2 separate regions of the Homo sapiens genome follow, and region 2 is linked to region 1. Evidence: promoter capture Hi-C in 16 types of primary human blood cells and fetal thymus (Javierre and others, 2016). All regions are on one chromosome and are shown on one strand. Each heading gives the region's core, a stretch centred on a gene start or on the middle of the fragment in contact. The rest is flanking DNA. Distances are from core to core; before and after follow the strand shown. Region 1 holds the start of ANKRD27 (ankyrin repeat domain 27). Region 2 overlaps KCTD15 (potassium channel tetramerization domain containing 15).

Region 1 (3,130 bases), core at 600-3,099:
CCTTCCAAGGCCTACGGGCTGTGCCTCCTGGATCTGCCCCCTGGATTTCACTCACGCCTGTCCACCAGCAACACAACAAAGCGATCTTTCCAGCGCCGAGCTCTGCAGGATTCCTCAAAGGATTCCCCTGCACTCCCCACCAGGTGAGCCCTCAACTTCTCTGCTAGGTGCTCAGGACCTGGCACATCTGGCCTCTGGCCACCTTTGCAGCTTCCTCACCCTCTGCTGTCTCCAAAGCTTCCCCCGAAGGGAAAGAGTATTTTCCCTCTTTCCACCCATTTTGTCCTGAAAACTACTATCCCCCTGGGAACGACCCTATGTAGCGTGTGGGTGGCTGAGAACCCCCCTTCCACACAATGGTCAAGGCCAGGAGTACCCAAGCCCTGGCAGCAAACACCCAGCCTACTGCTCACCCAGTTAAAGGACGGACCCCTGGGTGACAGCAGGCCCCGGGGCTCAGTACACCGGACCCTTAGGCCACCTCAACACCAGTCCTCATGCCAGGCTGATCTCGAAACGTAACAGCTACTGCTCAGCAAAACGTGGTGGCTAGTGCCTGTAATCCCAACACCTTGGGAGGCCAAGACGAGAGCATGGCTTGAGTCCAGGAGTTCAAGACCAGCCTAGGCAACCTGCTAGACTCCATCTCTACAAAAAAAAAAAAAAAAAATTAAAAATTAGCCGTGCATAGTGGCATGCGCCTGTAGTCCCAGCTACTACAGAGGCTGAGGTGAAAGGATTGCTTGAGTCCAGGAGTTTGAGGCTGCAATGAGCTATGATGGCATCACTGCACTCCAGACTAGCCAACAGAGCCAGACCCTGTCTCAAAAAGAAAAAAACGAAAAGAAAGAAAAGAAAAAAAATATCCACTGCTCTACTCTTCGGCCAGTGGGAAGAGTGCATTTTTTAATCAAAATAGGGGCCTCTATCCATGAAACCCATCAACTTGTAAAATCTGAGCTCTCTGCAGCCTCACAGTCCCTCCAGCACTGCCAGCAGCCCTCGTTCCCTGCATGCTCTAAATCCTCAGCGAAGACCCGTCCCTTGCTCCCTCGCCCAGCACAGGCCGCGAGTGCCCACGTCCCCTGCACCTCGTGGGGCAGCCAAGGGGGCACCGCGTGGCTCGTGTGCTCCTGGGCAGTCCATTTTCAACCACAAGACGGAACAGACTCAGAATCCGGAACATCTCTCGGTGCTTAAGAGTTTTCCTTTAACAATCTTTACCTGTGGGAATGCAGAGACCCCCCCGCCCTGCGAGAGGCCGGCAGCCAGGGATTCCCCGCTCCGCGCCCTCATCACCCCCCGGAAACCACAACCGCTGCGCGCGCGGCTCGGACCCCCACCCGCCGCTCCCCTCCAGCAGACCCTAGGCCTCCGGGAAACCGCGCGGCGACCGCCCCGCGCCCCGCCAGATCCGAACCGCCGGACCCGGCACCCCGGCCACACCCGCCGGTGTCGACGCAGCGAGGCTCGGAGGGTGCATTCTCCGCGCCGACCGCTCCCCTCCTCCAGACCCGAGGGGCGGAGTGGGCAGGGCGCGCCGGCTGCGCACCGGGCACCCACCTGGGGACGCGGGGGCTGGGGCGGCGCGGGGCCACCTGGCGGACCCGGGAGCGGACTCCGGAGAGCAGGGAGCCCCTCCCCCCTCACTCTCCGGGCCCCGCCCGGCCGCCGCGCCCCGAGGCGCAGCCATCCCGCGGGAGGGGAGGCGCAGGAGGAGGCCAGCGCGAGGACACTTACTTAAAAGGCTACATCGCTTCATTCCCAGCCCATCCTGGGCGACGGCGGCACCTCCCTCGTCCGCTGCTGGGACCTCGATGCCCACCACCCTCGCGCGGCGATCTGGCCCTATAGCCCACCCCTTACTCCGCCGTGGGGCGGAGCCGCGCCACAGCTGACCCAATGAGAAACCGTCGTTTCCCAGAGTGACGTGTACGCAGAGCAATCATGGAGTCCAGCCCAGCCGGGGGCGGGGCTCAGGCGGCTCCCTACGCTTCCTACTCCAGCTGGCCCCGCCCCACGCCCGCAACTGCGCGTGCCCAGAACGTGAGGGGCGGGGCTGGGAGCCGGGCTGACACTAGAGGTGGGGTTAGCGCTTGGAAGCACCGACCAACGTGAGCGCAACGCGGCAGGGACACCTGACCCCGGCGGCGCCCAGCCCCTCGGATTGCCAGTCACTGCTCGCTTTGGGGCACGGAGGTGCCCAGTCCTGCGGGGCACCCGACGTCCTGTCGCCGACAGGGTCCGGGAGTCAGTATAGCTGGGTTCTAGTCCCATCACAGGCAAAAACTCCGCGGGAGCCTGGCCCGCTTTTTACCTGGGCCTCAGTTTCCCCATCCGTAAAATAGAACGGGTTGGATCTCCCGAGCGCTAACATTCCAGAACTCGGATGGGGCGAAGGGGAGGGAGGGATGGGCCACCCACACGTGACCTCCCCGCGTGGAGCCCCGCCTACCACTGATCCAGGGGGTGGCAGCTCCGGCCGGGACGAGCGGGGTGGGCGGGTCCTAGGAAACCCTACCCGGCCGCCCTTGGCAGCGCCTAAGGCGGAGCGCGCGGCTCTGCAGCCTGCTTGCCCCGGAGTTGGCACCCACGGAGGATGGGGACCGCACCCTCAGCTTCGCAGGGAGCCACCGTGGAGGCCAGGGCGGTGCAGAGACACGACGTGTGACTCGGAGTGCGCCTGGGGAGGATGGACGAGGGAGCGGGGGACCGCTAACGGGGCTCCCTCTGCGCGCCCCGTCCGCAGAGGCGCACGTCGAGGGTCCCGGGCGGGCTCCGTGGACGTTGGCGGTAGCGCCGAGCGAGTCACGGACCATGAAGAGCGTTCGTGCCGCGCGGCCCAAGGCCGGGATGGGGGTTAGCCACATCCTGCCGCGCTGAGGGGGAGGCTAACGGGCGCGGGCGGCCGGGCCCAGCCGGAGCCCACCGCGATGGCGAGGGAGGAGTGCAAGGCGCTGCTGGACGGGCTCAACAAGACGACTGCGTGCTACCACCACCTGGTGCTGACCGTCGGTGGCTCGGCGGACTCGCAGAACCTGCGGCAGGAGCTGCAAAAGACGCGCCAGAAGGCGCAGGAGCTGGCGGTGTCCACCTGCGCCCGGCTGACTGCTGTGCTGCGCGACCGGGG
Region 2 (3,549 bases), core at 22-2,521, 1.1 Mb after region 1:
GTGCCCAGCACAAAGGCCTGGTGCAAGAGTGGGGTTGCCCACGTGGGCTGGTCCTGGCCGCGGGTGGACCCTCCCCACGCGGGCGGTCTCGGAGCTTCCTGCCGCGCGGTGTGTGTGTGTGTGTGTGTGTGTGTGTGTGTGTGTGCGCGCGCGCGCGCGCGCGCTTGTGGAGGTCCCCGCACTCTGGCCCCTGTTCTGGGCCGAGCGCCCTGCAGAGCTGGCGAGTTTCCGGGGTCAGAAACGGGCTCACGCAACTGGGGCTTCGGGATGCACAAGTCCCGGCTTGGCGCCCAAAATCAGAGAAAGTCTCCAGTGGGACAGATGTGCGTCCTCTGACGCCCACCCCACGAGTCCGAAACCTGGCAGGAGGGGCTGTCGCGCTGGTGGTGGTCCCGGGCGCGCAGGGTTTGGGGCTGGGAGAGGGGCCGCGATGGGAGGGATCGCCGCCTGCAGATCCGGTTCCCCGCTGCCCGCCCGCACCCCCTGACCTGGACGCGCGCACCCGGCACACACTCGCAAACACACCCGGGGGCGGACCCCCGCCTCTGCAGCGCCTTTCTGTCTTCCGGCGGCCCCCACCCGCGACTGCAGAAAGATAAGCTTCAAGTTTTCGCTCCGTATCTCAAATGTGCATGAAGGAATTTAACTGCACGAGTGAATAACAGCATTAGTTTCAATTAATTTTTTTTTAATCCCGGCAACAATAAACTTTGAGAACAAAAGCGCTTTTACGTCCTTAATTAGGCGAGCTTCCCATCTGTGGTCTCCAAGTGTCTGCCTCTTGATTTAACTTTGTCCCCGCCCCGCCTCCGCGGCAACCCCTCCCAGCCCAGCCCCGCGCTTCGGGTGCCGCGGCCACCCCGCCCCGCGGCGCCTCCAGCCTTGGCCCAAGCCCTCTCCCGTCGCCCCTAAGTTCACACCGGCCGGCTGGCTCCGCGGCGGAGGCGGGAGGGGGGGGGTGGGGAGGCTGGCGCGCACCAGGTGGCCCGCCTGCCTCTCCGGGGCCACCCCTGGGACAATTGTGCAGGCCCCCAGGACTTTCGCCCCGGGCCAGCGCCCTGAGTGCGGAGCCGAGGGGAGCTCGAGAGGCGCCTTCTGTTTACCTTTTATGGTTAAAATAACAGCTTAGCAAAGAAGCGACTTCAGAAGAAGCGATTTAGTGAAATCGTCTCAAGCTGCCGCAGCTCAGCCAGTTTAATCACCCCCAGAGAGCCGAACAACTGCGAGCGCAATGGGACACAAAATCATTTTGTGTGTAAATGAGCGTGGCATTCTGCTCACTTCTCTCTGCTCGGGCGGGCGGGGCTCGGCGGCGGGCGGGCAGGGACCCGGGTCTCCCGCCGCAGCTGGAGAAGCGGGTCACTACCGGGCCAGTTTGGAAACCTGTGGGCCCTCCCGACCGCTATCGCTGAGGCCCCTGCAACAGGCGGGCCAGGGCGCACTGGGGCTGGGTGCTGGGTTTGATGCTGGTGCTGGTGGAATGAACTTGTATCTCTCACTGCACCCACTTTTGTGCTTCTGACTTAAGCAGTGGTCTCGGAAAGAGGGTCGTGGTCCCGCACGGATGCGCTTGTTGGGAGAAACCTTGGAGATTCACGGCAAGGCGTAAAGCCTGGGGCTTCCAACGGTAAGTTTCTGGCTTGCCATGAACATCAGGTTGTTCTTGGGAGGGAAAAGGGGCTAAGAACAGAGTGGAGCGGCTTCTGTGATGGAGGCTTGGTGTTCACGTCACTTTGGAATAGTGTCCTGGTATTGGGGAAAACATCTTGCAGTCCGCTTTGATAGAATTTCAGCCAGAATTCCTTCCTGTTCAGTTTATCCTCAGCGCGTCTTCCCTTCTGACTCCTCCCCCAGCAGAGCCTCCTAGGGCAGGATAATCCATTCCTGAGGTCTGTTTTGGTTCTCAGAACTCCTTGAGCTAAGTGACCTGGTTTTGTTTTTTTAAGCTTGTAGAACTCAGGAATGCCAAAAGCAGTGGATTCTGAGTCCACAGGCCCCAGTGAGGGTATATATTAAACATCACTGTCTGCCCATTGCAACCTCCCACCCCAGTTTTATGTCAGGAAACTTGCCCGGGCACTCAGGGAGAGCAACCTTGCTTACATTTGCAGGATTTGATTCTGGTTGGATTAAAATTGGATATTGAATTTCAAGGCACAAATTTTGATCCCAGAGTTTTAATGGGAAAAAGCAATCCCATGGGTCCCAAGAATTTCAAGTGGTTTCTCTCTTAAAGGTTAAACCTTCGAGAGACGTCCAGGGTAGGTTTGTGGAAGCCAGTGTCTGTGGATGTGTGAAGGGGGGTGACTATTCACGTGCAAATCTCCTCTTTCCTCCCTTTTGAGACAGCTGTAAATCAGTGAACGGGGCTGCAGAATTCTGCCCCTCCTGCATAGGGCCTGCAAAGCGCCCCTGGGTGTGGCTTCCAGGGACTGAGGGACAATCTTATTTCAGGTGACTACGGCACAGAGGAGAGTTACTGAGTGCCTCTGGGGAGGAGCAGTAGAAAGGGTCCATTGGCTGATCTGCTTGCTCTGTGCTTCCTCCTGGCCACCTGGCCATCTCCTGATGCCTCGGGGGTATGTGATCCTGAGGGGTCTGGAATGCATTAGGCATAGACAACACCACTCTGGGAGTCTGGGGAGAAACTGTGAGGTACAGACTAGGCAAACAAAGACAGGTTTTCTCTGCTATTGGGAGCCACAGAGAAGAGGCGGCTTCCCAAGTGACTTGCCCTCATCCATGTGCCTGGACTTCTGCTGAACGGCTTCCCTGTGTCTGGCCAGATGCAAGCTGTATCTTATCACCATGGGGATGGTATTAAGAGAGGTCCTAGGTTCCCTGGCCCATGGAGGGTGAGGGGTGCTTTCTGAGCCTTGGTCCACAAGGCTGTTGCAAGAGGAGACACGCTTGGTAACATGGCTTGAAAGGAAAATACCAGGAAAATCTGGTTTGTTCTGAAATATTTTGGGGCAATAATGGTGAGCATATGTTTCAGTGCTGTCATTAGCCGAATTAGCAGACATGGAGCTGCCCAGAAAACACATGTGTGAGTGTGACTGTGTGTGTGTGCATGTATGTGTGTGTCATCTGCTACAGCCTGGAGGCCTGCTTTGGGGTGTGGAGACAGATAGAGAGATAGTGGCGGTGGAGTCAATCAGGGAGGGCTGCATGGACCTCGCAGGGTCTCAGAGAGCATGCAGAAAGGACAATTCTAAGTGTCTTTGACCCCATGGTACATGACTAGGAGGAATAAGCCTTCTCTGGTTTTGTCGATGCCTCCCGCAGATACTCTGGGCAGGGATGGAAGCCTAGATGCCTCACCGCAAGGAGCGGCCGAGCGGGTCCTCGCTTCACACACACGGCAGCACCGGCACCGCGGTGAGCCTGCAGGGTGGGCTGGGTCCCTGCCGGGAGTTCCCTCTTTCCCTTCTTCCCCAGTGCCTGTTTACTGGCTGTCCTTCCTTGGGACCATGACACTCCAGGTGGCTGTTGACTGGCTGTAGGATTATGTATTTTTGAAACAAAAATGCTCTTAATTTGATGTGA

Evidence for each region. Contacts are between HindIII fragments. The CHiCAGO score rates a contact against its expected background, and 5 or more counts as called.
Region 2: a fragment that was not itself captured here is called in contact with the fragment with the promoter of ANKRD27 in region 1 in 1 of 17 cell types (monocytes); the score reaches 5.3 in monocytes.

The regions. Positions count from the first base shown.
Region 1 is chr19:32,673,331-32,676,460 of GRCh38, forward strand. ANKRD27 (ankyrin repeat domain 27) reads right to left here and starts at 1,850. Exons shown (of 29, transcript NM_032139.3): 1 at 1,741-1,850. RGS9BP (regulator of G protein signaling 9 binding protein) reads left to right here and starts at 2,518. Exons shown (of 1, transcript NM_207391.3): 1 at 2,518-3,130. The coding sequence starts at 2,934. RefSeq lists silencers at 1,335-1,384, 1,405-2,134, 2,705-2,764 and enhancers at 1,778-2,397, 2,285-2,394. The HindIII fragment of the contact is 4,511 bases long and covers 236-3,130 here.
Region 2 is chr19:33,797,140-33,800,688 of GRCh38, forward strand. It overlaps KCTD15 (potassium channel tetramerization domain containing 15), which reads left to right. Exons shown (of 7, transcript NM_001129994.2): 2 at 1,529-1,627; 3 at 3,289-3,381. The coding sequence starts at 3,316. Among named protein-coding and RNA genes, the nearest start is that of KCTD15, 2.0 kb to the left of the region's middle. RefSeq lists an enhancer at 2,844-3,549. The HindIII fragment of the contact is 1,346 bases long and covers 599-1,944 here.